Regions from separate parts of the Homo sapiens genome. Here all the other regions are linked to region 2. Evidence: promoter capture Hi-C in 16 types of primary human blood cells and fetal thymus (Javierre and others, 2016). All regions are on one chromosome and are shown on one strand. Each heading gives the region's core, a stretch centred on a gene start or on the middle of the fragment in contact. The rest is flanking DNA. Distances are from core to core; before and after follow the strand shown.

Evidence for each region. Contacts are between HindIII fragments. The CHiCAGO score rates a contact against its expected background, and 5 or more counts as called.
Region 1: a fragment that was not itself captured here is called in contact with the fragment with the promoter of MXI1 in region 2 in 10 of 17 cell types (neutrophils, activated CD4 T cells, M1 macrophages and 7 more); the score reaches 10.2 in neutrophils.
Region 3: a contact is called between a fragment that was not itself captured here and the fragment with the promoter of MXI1 in region 2, in 2 of 17 cell types (M1 macrophages and fetal thymus). The highest score is 5.6, in M1 macrophages.
Region 4: a contact is called between a fragment that was not itself captured here and the fragment with the promoter of MXI1 in region 2, in 1 of 17 cell types (activated CD4 T cells). The highest score is 6.0, in activated CD4 T cells.
Region 5: a fragment that was not itself captured here is called in contact with the fragment with the promoter of MXI1 in region 2 in 3 of 17 cell types (fetal thymus, activated CD4 T cells and monocytes); the score reaches 7.3 in fetal thymus.
Region 6: a contact is called between a fragment that was not itself captured here and the fragment with the promoter of MXI1 in region 2, in 12 of 17 cell types (neutrophils, activated CD4 T cells, naive CD8 T cells and 9 more). The highest score is 11.0, in neutrophils.
Region 7: a contact is called between a fragment that was not itself captured here and the fragment with the promoter of MXI1 in region 2, in 9 of 17 cell types (erythroblasts, megakaryocytes, activated CD4 T cells and 6 more). The highest score is 9.3, in erythroblasts.

Annotation. Positions count from the first base shown.
Region 1 is chr10:110,597,539-110,600,238 of GRCh38, reverse strand. SMC3 (structural maintenance of chromosomes 3) reads right to left here. Exons shown (of 29, transcript NM_005445.4): 20 at 1,949-2,100; 21 at 427-585. Among named protein-coding and RNA genes, the nearest start is that of SMC3, 31 kb to the right of the region's middle. The HindIII fragment of the contact is 1,728 bases long and covers 559-2,286 here.
Region 2 is chr10:110,206,234-110,208,933 of GRCh38, reverse strand. MXI1 (MAX interactor 1, dimerization protein) reads right to left here and starts at 1,329. Exons shown (of 6, transcript NM_130439.3): 1 at 852-1,329. The coding sequence starts at 1,125. RefSeq lists a silencer at 1,079-1,158. The HindIII fragment of the contact is 6,685 bases long and covers 1-2,700 here.
Region 3 is chr10:110,667,615-110,670,314 of GRCh38, reverse strand. The region is part of intron 1 of RBM20 (RNA binding motif protein 20); the gene reads right to left. Among named protein-coding and RNA genes, the nearest start is that of RBM20, 25 kb to the right of the region's middle. The HindIII fragment of the contact is 7,690 bases long and covers 1-2,700 here.
Region 4 is chr10:110,514,184-110,516,883 of GRCh38, reverse strand. No RefSeq gene overlaps it. Among named protein-coding and RNA genes, the nearest start is that of DUSP5, 18 kb to the right of the region's middle. The HindIII fragment of the contact is 7,392 bases long and covers 1-2,700 here.
Region 5 is chr10:109,876,815-109,879,514 of GRCh38, reverse strand. XPNPEP1 (X-prolyl aminopeptidase 1) reads left to right here. Exons shown (of 21, transcript NM_020383.4): 13 at 1,457-1,515; 14 at 1,648-1,725. Among named protein-coding and RNA genes, the nearest start is that of XPNPEP1, 45 kb to the left of the region's middle. The HindIII fragment of the contact is 6,015 bases long and covers 1-2,700 here.
Region 6 is chr10:110,548,286-110,550,985 of GRCh38, reverse strand. It overlaps the pseudogene RPL7P35. Among named protein-coding and RNA genes, the nearest start is that of SMC3, 18 kb to the left of the region's middle. The HindIII fragment of the contact is 2,027 bases long and covers 275-2,301 here.
Region 7 is chr10:109,895,605-109,898,304 of GRCh38, reverse strand. All of the region lies in intron 3 of XPNPEP1 (X-prolyl aminopeptidase 1), which reads left to right. Among named protein-coding and RNA genes, the nearest start is that of XPNPEP1, 27 kb to the left of the region's middle. The HindIII fragment of the contact is 577 bases long and covers 978-1,554 here.

The sequences.
Region 1 (2,700 bases), core at 173-2,672, 390 kb before region 2:
TATAACGCATGCTGTCAAAAACAGTTTCTTTAAATGCTTTTCATTTTTTAGAATCGGTGTTGGTAGTTTACATCTATGCAGTTTTAAAAATCAATTAAAATGCTTGATCAAAACATTAAATATGTAAAGGCAGTAAGATAAATATGGTAAGGCTAACAAGCTCAAACTCATAGCAATACTTACAACTAATAAGTAATGCTAATTAACTAAATTTTAAGGAAATGAAAATTTCTTGTATAATCCTAACCTAGCTAGATTGGTTTAGAAAAACAAAATCTTATTTACTCCTATGTATATTAAAAGTCCAAGCCTCATTTTAATATTTTCTCAGTTCTTTTCTTTCATATTGCCCTAGTTAGCAAGAAAGGCCCTTTTCACAATAGCCAATTACTAACGAATTCTTTTTCCAGTCAGCTGTCTACTTACCTGCTGAAGTTGACGAATCTCATCATTCAGTGCATCTACTCTCTTCTGATCTTCCAAACTCAGTTGAGAAAGCAAATCAGTTCCCAGTTCTGCTTTCAATGACTCTCTGGTAGACTCCATAGCATGCAAGCTTGCCTCCAAACTCTGTAAGCTACGTTGCTATATGACATTATCCATTTATTAGTAAGGTATTAGCCACTGTATTACTTATAGTGAAAATTTTAAAACAATCTATATTTGATTGAGCTAAATATATAGACATATCAACTCAAATATTAGGTGCCTATTAATTTGGTAATTAGGACTCTAGCAACAAGAAAAATATGATGTAATAGTATAGGTGGGGCAGGGTGGGGCAGATCATATTCCATGATTAAACTATACAAAAATCTTCAGGCATATTATAAGAACAAAAAGTTGCCGGGCGCAGTGGCTCACGCCTGTAACCCCAGCACTTTGGGAGGCCAAGGTGGGTGGATCACGAGGTCAGGAGTTCGAGACGAGCCTGGCCAACATGGTGAAACCCGTCTATACTGAAAATACAAAAATTAGCTGGGTGTGGAGGCACACGCCTGCAATCCCAGCTACTCTGGAGGCCGAGGCAGGAGAATTGCTTGAACCCAGGAAGTGGAGGTTGCAGTAAGCCGAGATCACGCCATTGCACTCCAGCCTGGGCGATAGGGCGAGACTCCATCCCCCTCAAAAAATAAAAAGTTGTCAGAATATGGTTGGGATGGTACAACTGTAGGCACATCTTTTTTTTTTTTTTTAAGCTCTTTGTAGTTTTAGTATTATACTAAGTAAAAGATTTGTCAAAACTGTCAAGTTTATGAGACCAATAACACACTATCACTTATAAGTTTGCTTTCTAATTTTAATACAATCTGGACAAAACGGAATCAAATATTCAACTAATTCCATTGTGCTTCAGATAAAAATGGTTACTGACAAAAACTGACCATCAGACAGTACTCTTATGTCACAGCTTCAAATGCCTATTTGTTCAATGAAGGTGGAAAGTTTGAACGTGCCAACAATAGGAGACTTTGGGTATCCATGGGTTTAAGAATGGTAAAATAGATGTAGATATCCAAAAGTATGGGTCTAGCCTGGGCACAGTGGCTCACACTTGTAATCCCAGCACTTCGGGAGGGCAAGGCAGGTGGATCATCTGAGGTCAGGAGTTTGAGACAAGCCTGGACAACATGGTGAAACCCCATGTCTACTAAAAACACAAAATTAGCCGGATGTGGTGGCGTATGTCTGTAGTCCCAGCTACTCAGGAGGCTGAGACAGGAAAATCGCTTGAACCCAGGAGGTGGAGGCTGCAGTGAGCTGAGAACGCACCACTGCACTCCAGCCTGGGTGAGACAGAAAGAGACTCTGTCTTCAAAAAAAAAAAGTATGGGTCCAAACAAAAATGAAACATAAAATTCAAGGATAACCCATATAATGTATGATTCATATTTCCATATTATTAATCTGTAACAATCGATCTATAACCAAAGATATACTTACGAACCTTAGGCATGAAGGTTTTCTCTGACTGCTGCCTCTTCTCTTTTAGCATCTTCATTTCTGATAATATGCTATCTCTAGATGCTTTAAATTTCCTTTGCTGGGTCTCGATCTGTTGCATTTGGTTCATCAACTGATCAATTTCATTATTAATCCATATACAAGGCTAAGGAAAATTATCTCCAGGTTGTAAATATATCGTATGTTCTTAATTCTTTTTAGACACAACACCATGTATCCCTTCCTTTTCTTTACCCCCAAATAACATTTATGTCCTCAAATTTATGGACCAAAACAATGCTGAACTATATTACCCAAAATGCATTCAATCATAAAGAAGCTTGAAACATTTCACCCCATTTCACTCTCAGAATAACATGTATACTGTTTTACTAAAAGTTATACAAAACAAATTCTTGGAAAACCATAAAGGAGGTTAGGTGAAATCTAACAATATTACATACTTTTAAATATCTTTTCATTCAACAAATGTTTACTGTTACTATGCTTAAGGCACTATGTTAAGGGTTTATGTATGAAGAGTTCTTGCCATGTGTGGAATAATTCAATCTAGCTGGATTATCAAACACAGGAAGACAGCTGGTATACACTGTCAACATCCTCCTTTTCCTCAGTATTTCCCCATACGCTCTTTGTGTTAACATCTTGCCAAATTCAGGCAGTTCTTTAAAGTGCGATATGCAGACCCCTGCAAGGTCAAAGCTCAGGTGCTTATTTTTCTTTTTCTGTGCTTGC
Region 2 (2,700 bases), core at 80-2,579:
CGTCTCCCGGAAAATAAAGAAAAAGCACAGAACAGCCCACACCTTCTTCCCCAACTATTGTTTCTCAAAGATCCCAAAGTTTCCTTCTAGCCGCGTCCCCACGGCCAAGTTTCCCGGGCTCAGGACGGCGTGTCCGGGGCGAGCTGCTGGCGTTGCTTGGCCCCGCCGGCCTCCTTCTTTGGGGGGGGGGGGGCGGCGGTGGCACCCCACGGCAACGGACGTGCAGGGGGACTGTGTCCGTAGACGTGATGGCCTGAGCCCAGTCCTGCTGCTAGAGGGAAGGAAAAAGGCGAAGTAGGAGGGAGAGAGAGAGACAGAGCCGAGCCCACGCCGTGGAGAGCTGTTTGGTTGTTATTGTTGTAGTGTGTGTCTGTGTGTTTTCTTTCTGGAACCTCTGAGCTCTGCCTATGGTTTCCAACTTTCGGCTTCTAATCCCCACCCCACCCAGGAACGAGCAACAGAAAAACAACACTTGTCTGCCTGAGAAGGCTCCGGAAAAAAAAAAAAAAAAAAGGAAGAAAAGCGACCTCAAAGAGATGAGCTCTCGGCTCAGTTGTCAGCAAACAACAACACTCCCCCGCTCCTCCGCTGGGCCATCCTCCCAGCCCCAGCCCGCCGGAGAGGACAGACCGACGCACCGACAGGCCCCTCTCCCCCTCGCCCGTCTTTGTTACATCTTTAGCAGCTTTGTGCGTGCGTGTCCTTTCTCCGGTGTCATCGGCTTTACTGCCAAGGGCTGGATGTGTATGTTGGGCGGGGGGGGGACGGGCCGAGCTCGCAACAGGGGTCGCCCAAGTGGGCGAGAAAGAAAGAACCGGGCGCCGAGGAAGAGCAGGGGCCCCCAAACTTACTTTTGTTTTCTTTCTCGATCTGCTCCAGGTAGCTGGCGGCCTCGAGCAGAATCTGCACGTTCTGCAGAAAAGTGTTGATGTGCTTCTCCATCGAGTTCTCGCTGGTGTTGAAAATGTCTGAGAAGGGGCACCTGGGCTTGGCCCCAGCGGGGTCCTCGGGCAGGGCCGGGGGCTGGGGCGCGGCCACGGCGGGGGGCACAGCCGGGGGCGCGGCGGGGGCCAGCCCCGCGCCCTCGCAGCGCGCCTCCTTGCGCGGCCGCCCGCGTTTGCCCATGGAGGAGCGGGGGTCCGCCGAGCTCGTCCTCTAACGGGGCTGCGCGGCCCGGCCGAGCTCCGGGCCCCCAGGGAGACCCGGCCGGCTGGAGCAGAGAAGGCGCCGGGGCGAAAAGCCGGCCTGACTTCCCGAGCCTCGCTGCCTGCAGTTGTGTGTGTGAGTGTATGGGAGTGTGTGTCGGTCTCGCTGTGAGTCTGTGTGTATGGGAGATTGAATGAACCTACAGGACAGACGGAGGCACTCTGGCGCCTGGGTCCTAGTGCGAGCCTGTCGCCATCGGACCGGTCAAAATAAAAGGTGGAGACTAGCGAGCGAGGCAGGGACCGCCCCTGCCCGTCCCCGCAGGCTTCCCTGCCTCTCCCCAAGGCTTACCACAGAGTAGAACACTGTCTTTTAACCGGAATGGAAAAAAATACCTGATGTCTCTGGGTGCACCTGCATAAAAACAAACTACTTTTTTCACAGAAAAATAATGCCTCAGAAAGTGTCCAGCACAATGCCTGGCACATAGTTAGGTCCCCATACATGGTGGCTGCTATGACTTAAAAATAAATAAATAAAAGCTCCCCAATCCAAATGGGAAGAAGGGAACCAGTGTGTAACCAGAAGATCCCCCCACCCCCAACACAAACACTCCTACTCACAGACACACATACATACGTAATCACGCACACACTTGCGAGGCACCTGTGTGTGCCTTCACACAGTCAAATGAAATCCCAGGCCGTCCAAATCCGAGTTACAGATTTACTCATGCCTTTCTCCCTTCAAATGCAAAGTTATTTTCCAGAAGTGGGAGGAGATGTCAGCATCCCTCTCCACACTCCTCTGCCCAGCCTTGGTTCAGCTGTGCAAAGCTCACACCAGGATGCCTCCACACCTGGCTCCCTTTAATTTGAGAGGCAGAAGTGGCAGCTCAGGAACCACCCCCCTCCCCAGCTGAATTCCACCTTTTGCCTCTGAAAACCCCTACCCCAGCTGACATTGTTTCACTGCCACTGCTGTCCGCAATCATGGATGCTTTCCAGCCCTGGGAAGTACTGGAGGTGTCAGGGGATGATTGAAGGCTGCTCTAGGGTGCCATAGGAAAGGGTTCAAATCCCAGCTCTGCTGCATACAGACTGTGTGAGCTTGGACAAGTCCCTTAACCTCTCTTGGCCTAAGTTTCCACATCATTGAAATGTGTGATAAGATGCTTGTGTATTGTATCTGACTTAGCACACTCTGGCCCATGGTAAGCTCTTTTTCTTCCAATCCAGACCCAGGCAAGAGCCTGAGTCCCCTATTCTGATGTAACTTGTATCTAAGAAAGGAACAAGATGTAGTGAACAAGACTCTTCTGCACTTCCTTGGAAAATATCTCTATGACAAGCCCATCTAAATATGGTTACTTTGCAAGGTCACCTGGAGTTTTCCTCCAGGGGAACCATTTATATAGAGGACAAAGACAATGCTGCCCCCTGGAGGTGTGCGATGCAGCCACCCTACTCAAAGGCAGCTTCATACACATTGTCATAAAAACTCTTGATGGCCGGACGCAGTGGCTCACGCCTGTAATCCCAGCACTTTGGGAGG
Region 3 (2,700 bases), core at 134-2,633, 460 kb before region 2:
TGAGCTAGATCATTTCTTGAATCTACTCTAAAACTCCAAGGTGTGAAACTTTTAGACTCCCTAGGAAATCAAGTTGAAGCAAGGAAAAATCAAGACAAAAATTCTCAACTCAAGACAACATGCATTGAATACACATTCATGTAAACGTGCAAAGAGAGATGATACCACTTTAACAAACTGTAAATATTATTTCACACAAAAATCACCATCTAAAAAAATCACTCTTCAAAAAAAAAATAAGGTGGAAACTAAAAGGTTTCAAAGAGATGAATTATTAGACTTACTAAATAAAGTTGGGTCATGGTTAAAACCAAAGCAAACATTTCTGGAACAACTAAATAGGGTGAAATCGAATGGTTTCAAAGAAATGGCATATTATTTTTAATTCAGCAACCTTTAATCAGGAGTTTGTCGATTGACCAAGTTCTAAGCCTTCTCCAAAAGCCAGTAGAGTACCTTTTAGTCACTGTGTGCTTAAGAACTGTGTCAATGTACAACTCTTGCCACCCCAATCCCTACCTTTTACTAACTGGACAGACCCAAAAATGTCAGTTTGGCTGGGAAAGCCAGTCCCTTGAAATGTACTACAACCAGGCCAGATACAGTGGCTCATGCCTGTAATCCCAACACTTTGGGAGGCCAAAGCTGGAGGACCGCTTGAGCCCAGGGTTTGGACACCAGTCTGAGCAACACAGCAAGACCGTATCTCCATTTTTTAAAAAGTACTGTAACCAAGTGAAGGTGCAAAGTTTTCAGATTTGAAAGCAATCTTCTGAGCCTACAAGTGTTGTAATTGAATCCAAAGTTTTGTTGAAAGGCACATACAATCACGTAAGTGGTTTTTGAATGGGAGGCAAAAAACCATAAGAGGCTTTTCAGATAGATTGTAGTGGCCTGTAAACACGTCTTACTTCAAGTTTATTGCTTTTAACAGAAAATCCAAATAATACATGGAGGAGCTGGTCGTTTAAATATCATTCCTATTCCCCAAAAGACAACCCTGTCCCCCCTACCCCGCCACACGCATACAGACTTGCCACACTCCTTCCCAGTGCTTCCCTCTCAGGCTATCTGGAAACACTTTCATAGTTCTCCAGCCATAAGCAAGCTCACCGTCAGTGGATTAGCCAAAGTAACCAGTATTTTAAATTAATCTTCTGCTTATTCTCCATCATGGCTTTGCTGCTATTCCAGAAAAAACGAAGGAAGATTTTCCTCTGCTTAAAAACCACAACACCTTTATGAGGTTCAAGACAACTAAGTTAAATACACATACATGTAAACATGCAAAGAGAAATGACACAACTTTAACAAACTGTAAATATGTTTTCCATAAAAGTCACCATTTTAAAAGTCACTTTTCAAACAAAACAAAGCAAGGGCCAGGACTTAAAATGATCAGTAGGTTTTTTGGTTTTTTTTTTTTTAATTGTTATACTAAAAAAGTAACCACAGGGAACTGTCCTAAGAAGTTCAAAAAAGAACTTCGTCAGTCTCTGCCTTCAAGTGAAACATTAGGCCAAAGAATCTTAAGAGTTGGGATCAACTCTGCCTCTACCCTCCCCTCTCTTCACAGTCCTCAAAGAGCAGACATGAAAAAGATTTCAAAGAGGGAATTTAAGAGGGTTTCTAAAAGGTTTCTCTGGCACTCTCATCACTCATCGCAAACTCTCTGGGCAGGAACGACACTTGTTCAGTTTTTTTTTTCCTCTCCCTCCCTCCACCTGTTGTCCCAAGTCTCCCTTGGTATGTTGGGGCCATTCGCAATTTCTGCTTGAATGACAAGGTCTCCCCTATAATCCAGTGTCTCCCCTTCAACCCAAGTCGCTGCTTCTAAATTGGAGCCCCCTAGAAAAATATGTGCCAATTAGGGGAGACTTTACGCATCACAAAATGGCCATAGGTTGGTTGGTTTGGTTAGTTTTTCCCTTGTTTTATGCTTTTCAGTATTATGACTGGCTGCACCTTAACCTTCCAAAGTAAGTGAAGCTGAGATGGGTGAAGACGCACACAGTCAGATAGCAGGGGGCTAGGCTAGTGGTCCCTAATTCCCTTTTGGCCTCCCCACCCAAGGTAGCCCCAGACACAGCTCTGGAATTCCAGGCGGGATGCTTGGCATACGTCAGTAATTGAGTTAGGGGGATCTAAAGAAAGACTTCACGTTCACATTCATATGCTAAACTTAGTTAAAAATAGATGCAAGAAGGGCCTGACTTCACTTTTAATTTTAGCCTGGTGATGAACATGCCCTAAAGACAGAAAGTCACCAGGCATTTTCCTGAGCGCAGTGATCTTCATATTTTTATAAAAAGGAAATGCAGCATGTTCTATTAATAAAAGTGCTGTAGCCTCAGTTAAATCCGGACAGTTCGTAAATCAGGGCTCCCTCTGGCTTAGCTTCCCTGCACCACTCACTCACACCCAAGCCCCAGAAAGTGGGCAGGTCACATGCATGGGGGGTAAAGTGAGCAGGACACCAGGGGCCCAGGAATCAAAGGCCACACTGGATGGCTTTGTGATCAGTGAGGCACTCCAAGGCATGGCTCCCAGACACTTCCCAGGTGATCAAATGACTCAAACAAGTGCATTTGCCAGTCATTCTTAAAGGGCTAATGAAAAGATCGACACTGCCAGGATGAAGCCCTGTGTGTTACGAGATTAGTGATGAAAAGGGGGCTGGGTTCTGGCTGTAAGAGGCAA
Region 4 (2,700 bases), core at 17-2,516, 310 kb before region 2:
ACCATGGTGACATATATGAGGCTTCACCATTTGGGAGGTTAGTTCCTTTTAACCAAAACATTTTCTCCTCACCTCTGGAAGAAGCCCAGAATGAAAAATGCACAGATACTTCAAGGGCCTGCTTTAAGCCCCTGTTTGGTGGCTTCTTGGTTTCTGTAAACTTCGTAAGTGAACGGGTGTGTACTGGGGATGGGTGATGGAATAGTGGGAAGGGATCGGACCTACTAGTACAAATGAACCAGGATTTAAATTTCAGTTACCATGGCCGGGCACAGTGGCTCACACCTGTAATCCCAGCACTTTGGGAGGCCAAGGCAGGTGGATCACTTGAGGTCAGGAGTTCGAGACCAGACTGGCTAACATGGTGAAACCTCGTCTCTACTAAAAATACCGAAAAAAAAAAAAAAAAAGGCCAGGCATGGTGCTACACGCCTGTAATCCCAGCTACTGGGGGAGGCTGAGGCATGAGAATCACCTGAACCCGGGAGGCGGAGGCTGCAGTCAGCCAAGATTGTGTCACTGCACTCCAGCCTGGATGACAGAGCAGGACTCCATCTCAAAAATAAATACATAAAGGCCGGGCGCGGTGGCTCACGCCTGTAATCCCAGCACTTTGGGAGGCCGAGGCGGGCGGATCACAAGGTCAGGAGATCGAGACCATCCTGGCTAACACGGTGAAACCCTGTCTCTACTAAAAATACAAAAAATTAGCCGGGCGAGGTGGCGGGCGCCTGTAGTCCCAGCTACTCGGGAGGCTGAGGCAGGAGAATGGCGTGAACCCCAGGGGGCGGAGCCTGCAGTGAGCCGAGATTGCGCCACTGCACTCCAGCCTGGGCGACAGCGAGACTCCGTCTCAAAAAAAAAAAAAAAAAAAACCATAAAAAATAAAAAAAGAAAACAAAATAAAATTTAGTTACCACAATTGATCACTTTGGGGCAAGCAGGGAAGGGTTGTTTTATTATTTATTTTGAGACAAGGCCTCGCTCTATCGCCCAGGTTAGAGTGCAGTTGTGTGATCATGGTTCACTGCAGCCTCAACCTCCTGGGCTCAAGTGATCGGTAGGGTTTTTCTTTATGGCAGTTTTCTGGGGACTTCTTATGGAACGCTCAAGTCTCAGAGTCTGAGCGAGGCAGGTCTCTGAACTTAGAGGAAACCGATTGATCCCAGGGTGGGCATCTGACCCAAGGGCAGCCCAGCCGTAGGCTGACCAGTGACCAACGAGGTGAGGGGGTACCATGGCCTCTGACCAATAAGGTAGCAGTAATTAGCTAAGGCTGGGAATCTGCTTCCTCCAGGATTGGGGAGGAACTGGCAAATAGGTCCAGGATAAAGAAACTCACGTTTGGAGGGTCATAGGGGCTCTGAGAGAAACGGAGAGAACAGCTTCTGCTTCTGACCAGCGTTTCATTCTGTTTGTCACTTCTTCACTCCTTCACTCAACCAGTACTCATTGAATACCTAGGATAAGTCAGACCCTGTCCTTGGTTACTCTTGAAATGCAATGTAATCTCTGTTCTCCCGGTGTTTCTAGTCTGAAGGAGATGACGTTAATAAAATAATCACAGAGAAATGAAAAATTTTTAAACTTTGATGAAATACGAAGAAAAGATATAGAAGACTATGAGAGCCAATAGGGACATCTGACCTAGTCTGGGAGGGCTTTCCTGGCAAGGTGAATTTTGAACTGAGAGGCGAAAAACCAGTATGAGTTAATCGGTTGGAGGGGGAATTTATAGGAGAAAGATTCCAGTCAGAGGGACCAGCATGTGCAAAGGTCCTGAGGCAGGAGGGATGTTGGCATGTTTAAGGGATTGTCAGAAAGCCAATGTGGCTGGAATGGAATATAACTGGGGATTCAGTGCTATTTGCATTTATCCACAAACACTTTTCCTTAAAGTAGACTGAGGAGACTTCCTTGCAAACAAAAGCCCAATGGACAGAAGTACCTATTATATACCCCAGGTGTTCAGAGGGGTACAAGATCAATGAAATAGCTTCATTCGAGCTCTACCTTTTGCTAACTGTGTGACTTTGGGCAAGTTACTTAATATTTCTGAGGTTCAGTTTGTGCATCTGTAAAAATGAGATATAAAAACATTTATAGGCAGGCGCAGTGGCTCACGCCTGTAATCCCAGCACTTTGGGAGGCTGAGGAGGGTGGATCACAAGGTCAGGAGTTCAAGACCAGCCTGGCCAACATGGTAAAACCTTGTCTCTACTAAAAATACAAAAATCAGCCGGGCATGGTGGCACATGCCTGTAATCCCAGCTACTTGGGAGGCTGAGGCAGGAGAATTGCTTGAACCCAGGAGGTGGAGGTTGCAGTGAGCTGAGATGGGGCCACTGCGCTCCAGCCTGGGCGACAGGGCAAGACTCCCTCTAAAAAAAAAAAAAAAAAAAAAAAAAAAAAAAAAAAAAAAAAAAAAATTAATGAACAATGCAAGAGAGACTAAGGGGTGGGCTGAGTAGGGTGTGGATTGCTGGCACAGTAACACAGCCATAACCACAGGCTGGCAAATCTGAGGAGCTTGGGTACAAGGTTGTGCTGAACCACAGATAGAAGATGAAGCTAGAGCCTAGAAGAGGGGAGCTGGAGAAGGGGATTGTGTGGGGCTAACGACATTGGTCCAACTAAGGAGGTCGGCTCCAGGCAGGGACAGAAAGCCAGTGAACAGTCATCAGTACTCATGGACCCATG
Region 5 (2,700 bases), core at 5-2,504, 330 kb after region 2:
CACTGCAACCTCTGCTGCCCAGGTTCAAGAGATTCTCCTGCCTTAGCCTCCCAAGTAGCTGGGATTATAGGCGCCTGCCACTGCGCCTGGCTAATTTTCGTAGTTGTAGTAGAGATGGGGTTTCACCATCTTGGCCAGGCTGGTCTTGAACTCCTGACCTTGTGATCCACCCACCTCGGCCTCCCAAAGTGCTGGGATTACAGGCATGAGCCACCATGCCTGGACTTTATGTAAATTATTATTATTACATTTTTATTATTTTTTTTTATTTTTGAGACAGAGCCTTGCTCCATCGCCCAGGCTGGAGTGCAGTGGAGCGATCTCGGCTCACTGCAAGCTCCGTCTCCTGGGTTCACGCCATTCTCCTGCCTCAGCCTCCCGACTAGCTGGGACTACAGGCGCCCGCCACCATGCTTGGCTAATTTTTTGTATTTTTAGTAGAGACGGGGTTTCACTGTGTTAGCCAGGATGGTCTCGATCTCCTGACCTTGTGATCCGCCCGCCTCGGCCTCCCAAAGTGCTGGGATTACAGGCGTGAGCCACCGTGCCTGGCCGTAAATTATTTTTAAAAATATAAATTATTTTTACATGTCTCTTAGTGTGCAGATAAATTTTTTTTCTTTTTTTTTTTCTTATTTTGAGATGGGGTCTCATCTGTTGCACAGGCTGGAGAGTAGTGGTGTGATCACAGCTCACTGCAGCCTCAGCCTCCCCAAGCTCAGGTGATCCTCCCACCTCAGCCTCCCGATTAGTTGGGACTACAGCCCACCTGATTTTTTCTGATTTTTTTGTAGAGATAAGGTTTTGCCATGTTGCCCAGGCTGATCTGAAACTCCTGGGCTCAAGCGATCCACCTATCTTGGCCTCCCAAAGTGCTAGGATTATAGGTGTGAGCCATCACACCTGGCTTAGATATGATTTTGTGTTTTATTTTATTCTCTTAGAATCATAGTGTGAACATTTTCCATGTACATTGAGGCCTTAAAAAAGGATCCAAATGAAAACTGCATCTAGTGGCTCTTCTGATTTACTAACCCAGTCCTCCTATTTTTAAATGTTTGGGTTGTTTTTAATTTTTTGCTGTTATCAGTAATCCTGCAATAATCTCTCCGCATTTATCTTTTTTATTTCTCTAGAATGATTTTCTTACGATGATTTCTTAGGAGGGGATGCTTTTGAATTTTTAAACTTAGATATGTTGTTTTGGGAGGTTTTAGGATAAAATACTGAAGCACAATAGTTGAGTGAAAAATTAAATGAATAGAAACTATTGGATTTTAGATAGCTTTGGTGAGAGCCTTTGGGAGTTCTCCCTTGCTAAAGATGTGTCCTGTAGATTGGTCAGTTGGGATGAAGCAATTGAGGAAAAAGTGAGCTTTTAATGTACCTCCTCTAATTTGTAAGAGGCACACATGAATTTATCTCACCAGATGATTTATAAGCAATTTTCTCATAGGTTCCCAAAGGTGGTGTGACAGAGATCTCAGCTGCTGACAAAGCTGAGGAGTTTCGCAGGTAAGGATCCATTTGGGGGGACCCAGGAGCCTCGTGCTGATTTTCTTGCTAGTTGAATGAGGCTGGAAGGGCCCTGAATCTTAGCACAGTAAAAACCTTTAAGCCACTCTGCTTTCTGTCTTTCTGTTACAGGCAACAGGCAGACTTTGTGGACCTGAGCTTCCCAACAATTTCCAGTACGGGACCCAACGGCGCCATCATTCACTACGCGTAAGGCATGCGGAGGAGCATGCTGCCTGGCCTTGCTGCTTCTGCACAGGAGCCTGAGCAGGGGAGAGACATTATTTTACCAGAGGCCTCTGTGCCCACCTTCATCTGTCTGTTGAGACTGTAAAATGAAGGGAAATAAGACTTCTAAGATTTTATTTTCTCCCAATCCCCAAGCCTCTGCCTTTTGGGAGCCTCTTCTTAGGCTCAGTATGGCACTGGCATTCTCTGCAGGGTAGTCAGATGGGTGTCCCTCTTTCCTTTTTGAAGCTGCAGGAACTGTATGCATAGCCCTTGCATCTTGATGACTAAGTTTTTTTTTTTTTGGAGACAAGGTCTTGCTCTGCTGCCCAGGCTGGAGCGCAGTGGTGCCATCACAACTCACTGCAACTTTGAACTCCTAGACTCAAGCAATCCTCCTGCCTCAGCCTCCTGAGTAGCTGGGACTATAGGCATGTGCTACCACTCCTGGCTAATTTTTAGATTTTTTTGTAGAGATGAGGATCTTGATGTGTTGCCCAGGCTTGTCTCGAATTTCTGGACTCAAGCAATCCTCCTGCCTCAGCCTCCTAAAGTGCTGGAATTACAGGTGTGAGCCACTGTGCTTGGCCCATGACTGGAATTTTTGAGTAGTTTTCTTTCTTGGTAACAGCAGCTGTTTTGTACTAGTCCATACATCTTGTGAGCTCCATCAGTTCCATACCAAAAAAAAACTTAGTAGTAGGTTGTGAGGCAACCTGTTTTGGGTGGAGAGATAATCAGTACCCTCTCTTCCTGTCCCCCTGAGCCTGAAGCCTGGCATCCCAGTATGTGGTTTTTTTACCACGTGGTCTACAAGAACCCATGGACCCACAGGGCCGAGCCTCCCTTCCTTGTGAGACAGAGGGGCACTGATATGTCTAGGACTGACAGATCTTCCTGTGGAGATGGGGGGAAATGTCATTAGGTGTGGCCATTGGGCTTCAGCCTCAGCTCTGC
Region 6 (2,700 bases), core at 39-2,538, 340 kb before region 2:
TCTGAGAAAACAAAAGCATTTATTTCTTTTGATATTTTGTTGTTTTTACTTATTACATATAATGTTTTTGTAAAAACTAATTTTTTTTAGTTTATAATTTTAAAATCTTCAGTTTTCTGGGTGGAACCAGGGAGAGTGTTGAAGAGAAGAAAAAGAAGGCTCCTGCTGTGCCAGAAACCTTTAAGTAAAAGTGAAGGCATTTTGCAGAGCTGAAGATCAAGTGCCAGAGAAAAAAGTTTGCCCAAAGGATGCTTCGAAAGGAAGGAAGGAAGCTTATCTATGAAGAAGCTAAACACTATCACTAGGAATATAGACAGATGTATAGAACTGAGATATGAATGGCTAGAATGGCAAGAAAAGCTGGCAACTTCTGTGTACCTGCAGAACCCAAATTGGCATTGATCATTAGGATCAGAGGTCTCAGTGGTGGCAGCCCAAGGGTCCGAAAGGTGTGGCAGCTTCTTTGCCTTGTCAGATCTTCATCAGAAACTTTGTTAAGTTCAACAGTGCTTCAATTTACATGCTGAGGATTGTAGAACCATATATTGCATGAGAGTCTCCGAACCTGAATTCAGTAAATGAACTAGTCTCCAAGTGTGGTTACAGCAAAATCAATATGAAGCAAATTGTCTTGACAGATAACACTTTGATGGCTTGATCTCTTGGTAAATATGGAATCATCTGTGCAGAGGATCTGATTCATGAGGTCTGTGCTGTTGGAAAATGCTTCAAAGAAGCAAATAACTTCCTCAGGCCTTTCAAATTATCTTCTCCATGAGGAGGAATGAAGGAAAAGACCACCTATTTTGTAGAAGGTGGAGATGCTGGCAACAGGGACAACCAGATCAAAAAGCTCCTTAGAAGGATGAACTATGGTGTGTGCCACAATTATTTCTGTAATCTGATCAGTTAATAAACAGTGATTGCTTTCAAATTGAAAAAATAAATAACAAAAATATTAGCTAAATTAGGAAGCAGACTTTCATAATAATTTTTAACTGTAATTTAGAGGTGACAAAGCAAACTTCACTAGACTTGTTTTCATCAAGAAAAGACACACCTTTGCTAATGCACAGCAGCACCAATAGTAAAACAGATGATGTCTATGGAAGTGATTCCAAGGAAATTAAACTACTACGAAAAGAGTTTGTACTAGTTTTACTCAGAAGTATAATTCCTCACATATTGAGTTCAGTTTTGTAGCCATAATTGACACTAATATTCTAAAACTATAGTATGTTATTTGTAGAGATATGCTAGCTAATAAAGCTCATAAGACCATCAACCTTATGTAGCATTTACATAGAAAACAAAAGAAGTAAATTCAAAACCTAAAGAATACCTTGAAAGAATGTTGAATTTAAAAAACTCATAAGAACAGATGTTCAATATTTCACATATAAACATTAGTAATGTATGAGCATCTTATAAAGCAGCATTTGGGGATGCGAAAATTTAAAAAAGAAGACTTTAGCACAAGACTGTATCAAAGATCTTTGAAATTATGGGTGACTGTGGCAAATAAAGTAACTCAAATGTCGTTTTTCATAACTAGACGAATTCAGTAACTAGCTAATGACATGGCAGATTAACTCACAGATACACGGCTAGCAAAGTCGTTTTCATTGCAAGTTATTGAATGCCCACATACTGCTAAAATGACAATTAATGTAGTATATATGCAATTCAAACATAGTGGAAGAATTTTTTTCAGTTTCATTGATGACAAGCACAACTAGTCCTAAATGTATAAAACTATAAAGGATTACACTGTCAAGGAATGTGGTTTAAGACTGCTGTAGGAAGATGCTTTAATGTGCAGCTTCATTGACAGAAAAGCATACTAAGTTTGAAGAATGTAAATCAATGCACTGCTTTTTTTAATCAGGAAAGTTTTACAATGAAAAAATGTTAGCTGAATTAAACAGTGTCTAGTTGTGTAGTTACATAGCAAAAAAATAGTTATGCAAAGGATAATGCATGAAATTCGAGATTATTCTCTTTATTATAATATGTGTTCATATGGAAGCTGATCATAAACAACTGTTGTAGGTGAGATACGATGCTTACTGAAGAGAAAAGTACTATTAGGAATGTTTGACTGTGAAACAAACTCTTAGTGTTCCTAGAAAGTAAAACAAACATCTTTATAAGGTCCCAATGTGGTTTGGGACAATAGGCATGCTTCTTTGTGTGATATTTTTGGCATTTTAAATGCTTTTACTACTTCTAAGCAGGGAGAAAAAATGCAGCATGATTTTCAATGGCAAAGAAGATTGAAGGGCAAAAATGACAGAAGCTTGGAAGAACAGAATATCCAGAGACTGTTACAACATGCCCCATAGTTTAGCAACAATTATCAGTGATGTTAGTGATAATCTTGATATTGCATATCTGTAAAATGTTATGGTCAAACAAGTTATGGGACATTTACATTTTATTTCCATCAAAAGAAGATTCGTGCATGGGAAATTCATAGATCCATAATCTGTTGCTTTCATTGAAAGACAATTTAACTCTACAGGATAAACTGTTGGAACTGGCAATTGAATAATTGACGAATTTTGAAAATACAGAATCATTTGCTTCATTTTGAATAAAAGTGAAAGATGGAAATCCTGAGCTTCCTAAAATTGTCTTAAAATCTCTTTTTCCTTTCCCGTTAACAAAGCTCTGTGAGACTGGTTCTCCACTAACCTC
Region 7 (2,700 bases), core at 17-2,516, 310 kb after region 2:
GCTGCAGTTCATCAGATGTTCGGCATGCGCTAATTGCTTTATGTCACACCTCAACCCTTCAAGGTGGGCATTATGTTCATCCCCATTTTACAGATGAGGAAGTTGAGCCCCAGGTTCACCCAGCTAGTAAGTGGGGAACCAGGCTTGAACAGAGTTCTAACTGCTGGTTGTAGGAGATGTCTATTCTGTGGCTGATGAAAGTAGAGGTAAGTGCAGCATACACCTCGTATTCCTTGTTCCCTCAGAATTTATAATCCAATTGTGAGACTAGATGTGTACAACTTCTGTACAAAAGTAGAAGAGGTTGCTTGGCAGCTTGCAAGGGTATGGGCTTTCGAAAGTCAGACCTGAGGCTGGGTGCAGTGGCTCATGTCCATAATCCCAGCACTTTGGGAGGTCGAGGCAGGCGGATCACTTGAGGTCAGGAGTTCGAGACCAGCCTGACCAACATGGCAAAACCCTGTCTCTACTAAAAATACCAAAATTAGCTGGGTGTGGTGGTGGGCGCCTGTAATCCCAGCTACTTGGGAGACTGAGGCATGAGAATCGCGTGAACCTGGGAGGTGGAGGTTGTAGTGAGCCTAGATTGCGCCACTGCACTCCAGCCCAGGCGACAAAGCAAGACCCCATCTTAAAAAAAAAAAAAGTCAGACCTGAGTTCAGATCTTGGTTCTGCCATTTACTGTGGTGTTACCTTGGGGAAGTTAGTTATTTCTCTAAGCTTCATTTTTTTCATCTGTAGATTAGCGAGGGATGATACCTTCCAGGGCTGCTGTGAGGATTAGAATGAGAGGAAATGAATACAGTTATTGACTAGTAGGTGTTGAGACAATAATAAACAATACAGACTAAATAATCTTAGCTAACATTATTTGTCAGCATTATCCAAGGTAGGGTATGGATAAGTGCCAACATGGATGGTCCTGTAAAATTCAGAAATGTGGGAGCCTCTGAAAGCTGAAGTGGGTCAGGAAGCTTCATGGAAAAGGGAGCACTTGAACCAGATTTTTGAGAGATGACTAGCTTTTTTTTTTTTTGTAGTTTACAGATGCTTTATTTGGCTATGTATTGTTTATATTGTTGGAATTAGATGCCAACATTTAAAAATTGGGTAATTTCTCATGAACCCATATTTCTGGCTTCTTCTGAAATATTGAAGGTTAGCAACATGTGGCCTGCATTTCAGAAATCAGAGCTGAGTAGGAGCTGCTGTCTTTAGAAAAGATATCCTTTGTCCTGTACCCTGAGGTATTTGAATTTGAAACCCCATTTATAATCCCTTACGATCTTTTCCCCATTAGATAATGTATTAGTTTCCTATCACTGCTATAACAAATTACCACAGTGACTTAAAACAAATTTATTCTCTTATGGTTCTGGAAGTCTGAAGTCTAAAATGGGTCAGCAGGGCTATGTTACTTCTGCAGGCTCCAGGGAGAGTCCATTTCCTTGCCTTTTCCAGTTTCTGGAGGCCACCTGCATTCCTTGGCTCATGGTCCCTTCGTCCATCTTCGTAGATATGGTTGAGGTTTTAACTGGATGTAGGGAAAAGCTTCATGTCTCTTTCTGCTTGTTCATTTATAATACAAATGTGGGTTGAGGATCTAGTCACCTGTGCTGAGTGCAGGGACAGGACAGATACCCTGATCTCATGGAACTTATATGCTTGGGGTTAAGATGGGGGTTGAGGAACAAGACAATAAACATATAAAAAGTTCATTAAGAAGAGAAACATTGCCCAGCATGGTGGCTCTTGCCTGTAATCCTAGCACTTTGGGAGGCTGAGGCAGGCTGATCACTTGAGCCCAGAAGTTCAAGGCCAGCCTGGCAACGTGGTAAAACCCCGTTTCTACAAAAAAAAAAAAAAAAAAGGTGTGTGCCTGCTGTAGTCCCAGCTATTGAGAAGATTGAGGTGGGAGGATTGCTTGAACCTGACAGGTCAAGGATACAATGAGCCATAATTGTGTCACCACACTCTAGCTAGGGTAACAGAAGGCGATCCTGTCTCCAAAAGAAAAAAAAAAAAAAAAAGACAAATATCTAGAGTATGTGTGTGCTATACAGAGACTTAAAAGTGGCCAGGTGGCTATTATAGCTGGGTAGTACAGGTAGGCCTCTCTGTAGAGGTGATATTTGATCTCAAATGTAATGATGAGAAGGACCTAGCCATACCATGATCAGAAATACTTTTATAGGCACAAGGAAGCACATGTGCCAAGGCCTTGAGGCAGGAATGAGCTCAGGATATGCAAAGAGCAGAAAGGAGGTGGGTGTGTCTGGAGCATGGTGAATGGGAGCAGAGCTGCAAGAGGACTGGCAAAGTCAGATCAGCTGGTACCTTGACTGGGCCAGAGTTTGGATTTTATCTTAAATATAATAGGAAGCCATTGGAGGGTTTTAAGGAGGTTGCTAACATGATCTTAGATATTTGGAAAAGCTCACTCTGAGTGTATGTGCAGAGTGGATTGTAGGGGCGGTAGTCCAGGTAGAGATGATGGAGGCTTGGACTGAGTGCTGCTATTAGAAATGGAGAGAAGTGGGTGGTTTTGAGAAAAAGCCAGCAGCTGTGCTTCTTTGTGCCTTTTTCCTAGCATGCTACAGCTTTGGTTTATTTTAGGCCCTATGCTGTGTTCTAAGGAGACCGCCCCTGGGCGTTGCCAGCTTCATGCCTGGGAGAAGGAGAGTGACAGCCCTGGGCCC